2 separate regions of the Homo sapiens genome follow, and region 2 is linked to region 1. The links are contacts of gene promoters, found by promoter capture Hi-C in blood cells and fetal thymus (Javierre and others, 2016). All regions are on one chromosome and are shown on one strand. Each heading gives the region's core, a stretch centred on a gene start or on the middle of the fragment in contact. The rest is flanking DNA. Distances are from core to core; before and after follow the strand shown.

Region 1 (5,143 bases), core at 406-2,905:
TCACGCCTGTAATCCCAACACTTTGAGAAGCCAAGGAGGGGGGAACACTTGAGCCCAGGACTTTAACACCAGCCTGGGCAACATAGCGAGATGCCCATCTCTACAAAAAACTTAATTACCTGCACGATGGCATGTGCCTGTGGTCCCAGCTACTCCAGAGGCTGAGGCCGGAGAATCCCTTGAGCCCAGGAGGTCAAGGCTGCAGTGAGCTATGATTGCACCACTGCACTCCAGCCTGGGTGACAGAGGGAGACCCTGTCTCAAAAAAAAAAAAAAAAAAAAAAGGAATAAACATCTACAGGCAGTAGACCGACTACAGAGAAAAGAACTACTATTACATTGTTTGGGTTTGCATGAAGCCATCTATGTTGTTCCTCAATAGCTCCATAAAGCCTAGATTATAAGACTTTGTACCACACTGCCAAAAGGGTAATGCCAAATTATTACTGCATTCAGAAGGAGAAAATTTGTCCTTAACATGGCTAAAAGCACTCAAAATTATAAATACATTTGCTGAAAGATACTTTAAATTCTCATTTAAGGTGTGTGGGAGTTAAAAGGTGTTTAATTTTCCCTGTCAGTTGGGTGTTTTACATTGGCTAAGAACCAAGACTGTGACAAGAAATGAGTTCTATGATTGAGAAACTCTAAGATTCTGGGGGTGGCCTAGGAGTTTACTTTGAGATTGAAATTTATTTTCTATGGTCAACTGTATAATTACGATGATACCACCCCTTGCTTTCCATCTGACACTTGGTTTGAGAAACTGTAGGTAGGAAAGGGAAAGAAGAATGTCCCTCCTTGGGCCTCTTCTTTTGGGCCTGTGCTTCCTAGAGTCAAATGTCAAGCTGGTATTTCCTTGGTGCTAAGAGCAACCACCACTCTGAGGCAGAGACGGGATGGGACCTAGCCAAAGTCCCAGTAAACAAACTGTATCTTGTAAGCGCAATTTAATTAGGGTCAAACTATTCTGTATGGACTTGCTTTTTCGACTTCTGAGGATTTAGTAGTCATGATTAAGTGCTGTCACGCTACTGCGATCTACAAACAGTAGCTCCACAACATCCGCCCGCATCGTGGCAAAGAATTATCAAGAAATCCCCAAGGGGGCGGTGAGGAGCCGCCGGTCGGCCAGGTCGCCCGGTCCCTCAGTCTGGTGAAAAGCTCCGTTGCCCACCCTGAGGGCTTCGCGGAAGGAAGTTGGCCGTATCGCTGCACCTTAGAGATGCGACGGCCGAGGCTCCCAGCTCAAGCTTCTGGTAGTAAGGCCTGTGTGCCTGGCATTCGGGGAGGCCACTTTTCTATCCCCAGCTTCCGGGCCACCACTTGGGTGCGTCGTGGGGATGTCGGCAGCTACGTTTGCGGCACAGCTCCGGCTAAACTGAAAAACGAATCCTCAGGTTTGACAAAACTAAACTAAAAAGACACTTTTCTCCTCTCACTCTGACGTCCCAAAAGTTTCCTTTTTAGGGGTCGGGGCCTACGGTGGGCGAGGAGAAACTCGAGGTATCTACCCACCGCACCAAACAACTCATGCGTCGCTTCCTTTCGACTTGGAGCTGGCCAGTATCCCGGCGTCCTCTCGGCCGACGCTGCGGTCTGAGGCCACTCTGGCCGGCAGCCGACGTCTCTATGGCTCCGACCGAGGGGCGGAGCCGCTGCTCGAGCTGCTGCTGGATTGAACTCAGAGAAGCCGGGGTGGGTATGGCTGAGCCGCTGCGTGGGACTGAGGGGAGGGGGCCGGGTGGACGCCGCGGAACTGCGTCCTGAGGTGGGAGACCGGAGGTGGGGGACCACTGAGTCTGATGTCTGGAGGGTCCGGTTGCGGGTCGGAGGGCGTGCTGGAACAGCCGCCACGCGGGAGCCAGGAGCCTCCTGGGTGCGTGTGACCCACGAGCCGGCACCGTCCCGCGGCCCTGGGGTCTGCGAGGAGCCCTGGCGCCGCCCTCCGGCTTCGCGCTTTTTCTAGATCCCTAGAACCCCAGCCCTCCGCCTACGCTCCGCGCCCCTGGCCTTTTTCTGGCCCAGGGTGGGGTTCCGGGAGTCGTGCCGAAGGAGCCCATTGCCGTCCTTAACCGGTTGTAAGAGCCTTTCGTGCCCCGGAGCCTTTGAGGCTTGAATGCTGAGAGTGTGACATGGTCCTTTCCCTGCAGCCTGGCCCATTTTTTTAAATGACATTTGAAAAATTATTGCATCACACCAGACTCAGAAAAGGATGTCTGGGAACTTCTGAGGCTTGAAACATGTTGAAATACAGAATTTTGTTTTATTCGTAATGGGCATAGGAACTAAACATTTTAAGTGCAGACATCTGATGGCTATAAAAAGTTTCAGTGAAAGTAAGCAAGATTTGTGTTTCCTTTGTCAGTTAGTTGCATCAGATTTGGCATCTGCTTTTGATATTTTTCCATTAAAGAAATTAAATATATTAAGTTTACAGCAACTACAGTTCAGTGAAGAAGACTTACTGGTAAAGCATAATAAAGGCGGTTTCTGGAATTTGGACCGTGTTTTGACCTTGGGTTTTTGCATATAATGTGTAAGGTTGGTGGGGAAGAGGGAAAGTTAAAACAGATGACACTTACTTAGAGAATGTATCAGCTCTTATTTGTTTTGACAGAAATAATGTCTAAGAGATTATTAGCAAACAATACATGATAGCGTATAATTAAAGTGACCAGCTAATTATATGTTTGTGGAATTCAGGAAGGAGAAAAGTACTGTTATGTATACTCTGAAGGCCCCAAAGTTAGTGGTATTTGCTATAAGGGGGATGGGGTGTGACAAAGTTTGGCCATTGCAGAAAATGGCTTCTGCGAGTCATAGGGAGGAATTTATAATATGTCAGTTATGTCAGAGAAGCTATCCCAAACAGTATCTTTAGTTCATAGGCTGCGGATTTATTATGTGATTATCTCTTGTATTAGTAAAATGGAATATTTATTAAATACCTTGAGCACACTGGATTTTTAAACATGACAAGTTTAAAAGAGATCACTACTCTTAAGGAACCTTATCAACAAAAGTGAATATGTAAAAGGAGGTTCGGGAGTCCGTTTTATTTGTAGGGGGAGGAATAGGAAGTGGAAAAGGAAATAAAAAGTTTAAGAAGAAAAATGGGTACCCTTAGGTGTATTATTCAGAGACAATAAGTAATACAGGAAGAACACTTAGTAAATTTCTCTTTTTCTAATACTCAGACTCTGAGCCAGATGTTAAATATCTGCACCAAAAGTTGGAGTAGAATAGATGCCAGAAATGTGGGGTTCTGGAACTGCAATTATACCTTCCTTAAAAATAGAAATAGTTCTCTTCTACGTATCTATTGTGTAATAAATTACACCAAAACTTAGAGGCTTAAAACAGTAGACAGTAGGGGCCAGGCGCCGTGGCTCACGCCCGTAATCCCAGCACTTTGGGAGGCCGAGGCGGGCGGATCACGAGATCAGGAGATCGAGACCATCCTGGCTAACACGGGTGAAACCCCGTCTCTGCTAAAAATACAAGAAATTAGCCGGGCGTGGTGGCGGGCGCCTGTAGTCCCAGCTATTCGGGAGGCTGAGGCAGGAGAATGGCGTGAACCCGGGAGGGGGAGCTTGCAGTGAGCCGAGATCATGCCACTGCACTCCAGCCTGGGTGACAGAGCGAGGAACCATCTCACACAAAACACAAACAAACAAAAAACAGTAGACAATAATTTTATTCTTTCTGTGGGGTCAAGACTTAGCTGGCGGTTCTGGCCCAGGGTCTCATGAAGTTGCAGTCAGGATGTCGGCAGTGGCTGCGGACATCTGAAGGGTTGACTGGGGCTGAAGGATCTGCTTCCAAGTTCACTGTGAGCTTTTTCCTTCCTCTTTCATCAGCAAGCTGTTTTGTACTTTCCATTGGTAAAATGCATTCGCATTATACCCATTATATATAATATATGTGTTCCTATTCGTAAACCGTGATACAGTTTTTTGTAAACAGTAAATTTTGCTTGTTGAGGTCGCTTTAAATTTGGATCATCATGTAAATACTTCAAGTAATCTTTTGATTTTTCACTTTGCTCACGACACTTTATTAGCAAACTAATCCTTTTAAAATCTGAACTCATCATGTAAAATGTAGAGTTAGTAGGTTCGGTGTGGTAGTTTCTGCCTGTAGTCCCAGCACTTTGGGAGGCCAAAGTGGAAGGATCACTTGAGGCCAGGAGCTGAAGACCAGCCCGGGCAACACAATGAGACCCCATCTCTACAAAACACTTTAAAAACAAAAATCTAGCCAAGTATAGTTGTGCATTTCTGTAGTCCTAGCTACTCAGGAGGCTGAAGCAGGAGCCCATGAGTTCAAGGTTACAGTGAGCTATGATCGTGCCACTACACTTCAGCTTGGGCAACAGAGATACCTTGTCAAAAAAAAAAAAAAAAAAAAGTAAGCCGGGCGCAGTGGCTCACGCCTGTAATCCTAGCACTTTGGGAGGCCGAGGCGGGCGGATCACGAAGTCAGGAGATCGAGACCATCCTGGCTAACATGGTGAAACCCCGTCTCTAGTAAAAATACAAAAAATTAGCTGAGCGTGGTGGCGGGCACCTGTAGTCCCAGCTACTCGGGAGGCTGAGAGGCAGGAGAGTGGCATGAACCCGGGAGGCAGAGCTTGCAGTGAGCCGAGATCGCGCCACTGCACTCCAGCCTGGTCGACAGAGCAAGACTCCGTCTCAAAAAAAAAAAAAAAAAAAAAAAGTAAGATTATTAACATTTAAATATATATTGTGATTATTAAAAATTGCTTCATGAGTGAAAGAAAATATAATGCACTGGCTTTATAAGGACATCATGAAATTTGCAGTTAAGTGGATATTGGCTTTTTATTTTTGTCTTCCTTCTGGAATGAGGGTTGAAAATAAATTTGTAATTGGGTCAGGCTCAGTGGCTCACTCCTGTAATCCCAGTGCTTTGGGAGGCTGAGACAGGAGGAACACTTGAGGCCAGGAGTTTGAGACCAGCCTGGACAACATAGAGGGACCCTGTCTCTTAAAAAAAAAAGAAAAAAGAAAAAATTGCCCAAGCTTGGTGGCACTTGCCTGTAGTCCCAGCTACTCAGGAGACTGAGTCAGGAGAATTGCTTGAGCCTAGGAGTTAGAGGCTACAGTGACCTAGCACC
Region 2 (5,529 bases), core at 378-2,877, 1.6 Mb after region 1:
GTGGAGTTGAATTTGGGGGAATAGAATTGTGGGGACCTAGCCAGGTACTAGGAGTAGGTTAAAAACTCAGAAGGCATTGTGTGCATTGAGAGTAATGGGAAGACAGCCCTTGAACAACGGAATCCTTAGGCCTCTGGTGACCTCTAGTGGACAAATGTATTCTTAACTTGCCGGGCATTCTAGCTCAAAAGTACACTCTTGAAAATGCTTATGTTACTTAGGCATTAGTTTTCTTTTGAACCAAGTGAGAGTAAGTCATGCAGCTATTTCTTTTCTACCCATGGTGGATGGGAAATCTTATCAGATTCAGCATTTGAAGGCTAGGGGTGCAAAACACGTTGAGTAGGAGGTTGACAGTTACCTGTTACCTAGACACTTTGAAGTGTTCATTGTGTCAGGAGTGCCGGGGGTAGGAAAGAGGTTTGGAAATGAAATTCTGAGAATTGGGAAGGAATCAGCTGAGCTGGAGTGGTCACTTGTCGGTGTGAGGAGTATGAGAGTGGAGAGTGGAATGAAGTTGGGAGAACAGGTGGCATCAGGAGAAATGTCAGTGGTTTGTCACATACTTAACACCTTTCCAGATCAAGTAAGTAGGCGTCACTAGTGCTTGTTAATTTCCCCCAACCAACTTTCTTTATATTCCATCACCAAAGCCAGAATTCTGGAGTGGGTCTGCAGCTTCATCAGGATGGGCAACAAGTCTTATGAATTATTTCCCCCAAAGACCCTCTTGATTTCTCCCTTCTCCATTCCCATTCCCACTGCTCAGACTCTCACTGTTGGTTGTTTGGACTACTTCGAGCCTCTTCATTGATATCCCGGCCTTTCATCTTTCAAGCTTTCCAGCTAATCATACTGTTATATTTCCGCTTAAAACTTTTTACAGGGACTTCCTGTCTTTCAGGATGAAATCCCACAAGGCTGATCACAACTGGTCCTGCCTTCTCCCCTCCCACATGCTGTTGCCCTCAGTCCATACTCCAGGAACACTGAACATGTAGTTTCCTGAGTGCATCTTTGCAAAGCTGTCTATCTGTCTGTTTTTCTCTACACCTCCACCCCACACACTGTTCTCGAGATGTTTTCTTTTTTCCTATGTCTGTGTAAGTGCCACCTCCTGTAAGATTTTTTCTGCTATCTTTCTCCTCCCCAAAAGTTGGGTTCTCCATTTTCAGAATTATCACAATTTGTGCCTAATTCCCTTAGCATGTCTCTCCCTCTGTTGTAATTATAGGTTACGTGTTTATTTTCTCAGTTTCAAAGCTGCCCAGGACCAGGTCTTATTCATGATTGTAGCTCCAGAGCCTGACACAGGGATAGAATAAGCACTCAGTAAGGGAGTTTTAGATGAATTAACAAACCTGTGGTAGAATAAGCACTCAGTAACGGAGTTTCAGATGAATGAACTGTGTAGATGACACAAGCTCTGTAGGGAAGGAACCATCAGAGCACTAAAGGAATTAGGAGGGAGAGATTGTAAATAAAAACTTCTGTTTCTAGGAAGCACTCTGGTCCTTATCACTACATTTCTGTCTCTTAAAAGGCTTTCTTGAAGCATAGTATGGAGTAATATAGAAAAGTGAACATCTCATAAATACAGTTTGATGGAGTTTTACAAGCTGCACACCCATGTCATCAATGCCCAGATAGATAAATGGAACATGACCAGTACCCCAGGAAGCCCTCTTCCTGCTCCTTCCAGTCGCTGTTCTCTTCTCCCACTACCAATATTAATCGTTAGCCTTACTTTTGATTCTCATAGATTTGTTTTGTCTGATTTTGAACATCATATTAAAGGAATATTTCAGAGTATAATCTTGTGTCTGGCTTTAGCTCAACATTATTCTGTGAGATTCAACCATTGTTACTGATGGTTATAGATGAGTCATTCTCACTGCTATACCCCACTTCATTATGTAGTATGCCACAATTATCTATTTTGCTGATGAGCATTTGGGAGGCTCCAATTTTGGCCATAATGAACAGTGCTGCTATGAATTTTCTTGCACATGTCTTGTGATGAACCTAAGTATGCATTTCTGTTGGTTATAGACCCAGAATGGAATTGCTGACCCATAGCATATGGATATATTGAACATTAGTAGGTACTAACAGTTTTTCCAAGGTGGTCATTTCAGTTTAAATTCCCCTTGGCACATATGAGAGTTCTGATTGTTTCACATCTTTGTCGAGACTTGGTATTTTTTTCTTTTTTAGCCATCCCTTCATGTTTGTGGTGGTGTCTCATCATACTTTTTGCCATTAAAAGTGTTTTGCTACGAAAAATACTTCCCCATTAAAACAATTTCACCATTAAAAAATATTTCGCCATTAAAAGATATTTCGCCATTAAAAATATTTCACCATTAAAAAAAAATTTTGTCATTAAAAAATTTCACCATTAAAAAAAGCTTAAGGTCAAGTATTCTTATCTTAGAAATGTTTTATTTCTCTAGTTGGTTAAAATATTTCTGACTCTTGAATGGAAGATGATCTTCAGTCTTTAAGGTGACTGAAATGGAAAAATAATTCATTCAGTTATCTATCTTGTTACATTGACTTTGCTTTAAATTCTAGGCATATTTTGCTTTGAAAAATAATAGAAATAAAGAAAGGCATAAACCTGGAGACCTTCACCCAATGAAAAAATAAAGTCAACACTGTGTATACCATTTCTAAGAATAAATTGAGCGCCAGCTTTAAAATAATAAAGATATTAAACTATAGTATATATAATTTAACAGATACAGGATTATTGTTTCCACTTAACACTCTTCACTGGCTTGTGATTAATTTTTTTTTTGCTTGTTTTTGTTAAGAATGTGTAAATCTTCTTGAGCAAAAGATTTATGATATAGGGAAAATGTTCATAGCTATTTATAATTTGGGTCCACATTTCAATGAGCATGTTAATCTCTCTTTTAAATACCAGAATGCCCCTCTCTCCTTTTTAGAAGTGAAAGAGCTTCTCCATCCAAATCTTCATTTTGGGTCAGTATATTGTCACTGCATTTATGTGTTCCTTCAAAGCATAGGACAAGAACCAATTCATCTCTTTGCTTATCTTCTAACTCAGAATCACTCTGCAGCCGTGAAAATAACAAAAGGTGCGGGGTAAAACTGTAGGGTTGACATGGGTGTGAATATTGGCTGTATGTCCCTTACTGCCCAAGACCTTGCCCTGTGCATGCCCCGCTCCCACAAAAAAATAACTTAAACTTCTTGACTTTTAGTTTCCTCAACTGTAAAATAAAAGGATAGCTACCTTGCAAAAGTTTTGGGGTTATGGGAGACTAAGAATGTGGATCAAATGCCTATAAGAAAGGATTTATTTTTCTTTAAATTAACAAAGTTTTATCTCTTTAAAAAGATGTAATAGTGTTCTGTCAGATGCTCTTTGGTAAGCTCCCTTCATTTTCCTTCTAGGGTTGACAATTTTGGTTTGGGGCTTTTGCTTCGGTCCAAGCAGATAAAACGCATGGTCTCTTCATATGTGGGAGAAAATGCAGAATTTGAACGACAGTACTTATCTGGTGAATTAGAAGTGGAGCTGACACCACAGGTGAGAAAATTTGCTTTTCTTTTATAATACTAACTTACTTTAAAAATTCCTTTTTTCTCCGTGGAAATTTCTTTGTGCAAAAGAGGTAAGGCAGAAGGAATAGTACTTTGCCAAACCAGGGAATTTTGTTTCTAACTCACACCTGTTGATTGCTGGAGGATTAATATTTTCTTCTACTGTGTACTGAAAAAAGAGATATTTCTAAAAGATATCCAGGCTGCAAGATAAGATTTTAAGTTTGGCACTGTAATGTGTATTGTGCCAGAAGCATACAAAAGGATTTGCTGGAATGTTTGAGAATCATCCTAAAAAGTTAATTTATAGGAATTTATTTTTATTTTTTTTTTTGAGGCAGAGTCTTACTGTGTCACCCAGGGTGGAGTGCGGCGGTGTGATCTCGGCTCACTGCAAACTCCACCTCCCGAGTTCAAGCAATTCTCCTGCCTCGGCCTCCTGAGAAGCTGAGATTTGAGATTACAGGCATGTGCCACCACGCCCAGCTACTTTTGTTTTCTGTATTTTTAGTAGAGACGGGATTTCACCATGTTGGCCAGGCTGGTCTCGAACTCCTGACCTCAAATGAGCCGCCTGCCTTGGCCTCACAGGTGTAAGCCACCATGCCTCTCCAATTTCTATGAATTTTAGAACTAGAAATTTATGGGTGATCTGGTCTTGCTGAGACACTTCAGAGTGAAGCCCTTGAAAGGTGCATGTGACTATATCTGAGTAAGTGCTGGGATCAGAACCTAGATTCCCAGGGAACTGATGTTACTACAAAGCAAGCAGTTACTATAATTAATCTAGCAACTTTTCACTCATTTTCTATGTCATCTCTTAACTAATTGGAGTTATTCATAAAGAAAGGAAAACTTTCTGAAATCTTTAAGTAAAATGAGGGTCTACAGTTTGCTCTTCTTTCATTTTGACATGCTCTGCTCTCAGCTCTTGAACTGAGCCACTCCGCTTTATTTTAGTCAACAGAAAATATTGCTACTGACTTTGCCAAGTTGGTAATAACATAATTTAGTAGATTTTTAAAAATTAGTAATGAAATCATGGTGTGTTTGTCTAGAAAGCACACATGGGAACTATTCTGAGGCTCGTGTTGCAGTCACACCTGGTCACTCTATAGCACCGTTACCTGTACATACCATAGCATTGCACTGGGCTTGGTATTTACTCAATTTTCTCAGTTTTTTGAAAAAACAAAAACAAAAAAAACAAAGATGTCTTAGTCTGCTCAGGCTGCTATAACAAAATATCACAGACTGGTGGCTTAAACAACAGAAGTTTCTCACAGTTCTGAAGGCTTGGAAGTCCTCCTTGGCTTGCAGATGGCCGACTTCTCACGGTTCTTGCATGGCGGAGAGCATGCATGCTCACTCTCTGGGTGTCTCTTCTTGTAGGAACACTAATCATACCAGATCAGGGCCCAACCTTTTTGACTTCCTTCAACCTTGATGACCTCCTTATAGGCCCTATCTCAATACAGTCACACTGGTGACTAGGAATTCAACATATGAATTTTGGGGAGAACACAGTTCGGTCCATAGCAGTATTTTTCACATGGTAGGTTAAGATACAGTATTCTTTGGGTTGTGGAACTATTGAAAATTAACCTTTTGATTACCCTTGGTATCTTTTATGTTACTCCTTATTTCGTCAGAAAGTACGTACATCATTAATATATCATTTTTTTTTTTACAGTTTTTCCTCAGGCTAAGAGAGGTCAGTGTCTCCTTCCCCAACTTAGTGGCCCGTTAGTAAACACTGGCTCTGGCAGCTTATTTTGCAGCCTGAAGGCTAGGGGGAGGAGTATCGATGGTGGGGATCAGGAGTTCTTTGGTGGGTGAGGGTAAGGAGCTGGTGGCACCTACAGAAGGCCTATCTGCAGAAATAGTCCACTTTCAGGCCCTTACCTGGTATGATAGAAGGAGAGTATTCAGGGAGGGTATATATAAAACATA

Evidence for each region. Contacts are between HindIII fragments. The CHiCAGO score rates a contact against its expected background, and 5 or more counts as called.
Region 2: a fragment that was not itself captured here is called in contact with the fragment with the promoter of TMEM267 in region 1 in 1 of 17 cell types (total CD8 T cells); the score reaches 6.7 in total CD8 T cells.

Annotation. Positions count from the first base shown.
Region 1 is chr5:43,480,377-43,485,519 of GRCh38, reverse strand. TMEM267 (transmembrane protein 267) reads left to right here and starts at 1,655. Exons shown (of 3, transcript NM_022483.5): 1 at 1,655-1,698. It overlaps C5orf34-AS1 (C5orf34 antisense RNA 1), which reads right to left and starts at 1,601. Exons shown (of 3, transcript XR_007058763.1): 1 at 1,519-1,601. RefSeq lists enhancers at 1,326-1,515, 781-1,624 and a silencer at 1,570-1,800. The HindIII fragment of the contact is 3,795 bases long and covers 1,256-5,050 here.
Region 2 is chr5:41,851,452-41,856,980 of GRCh38, reverse strand. It overlaps OXCT1 (3-oxoacid CoA-transferase 1), which reads left to right. Exons shown (of 17, transcript NM_000436.4): 4 at 3,427-3,562. Among named protein-coding and RNA genes, the nearest start is that of OXCT1-AS1, 16 kb to the left of the region's middle. The HindIII fragment of the contact is 1,573 bases long and covers 841-2,413 here.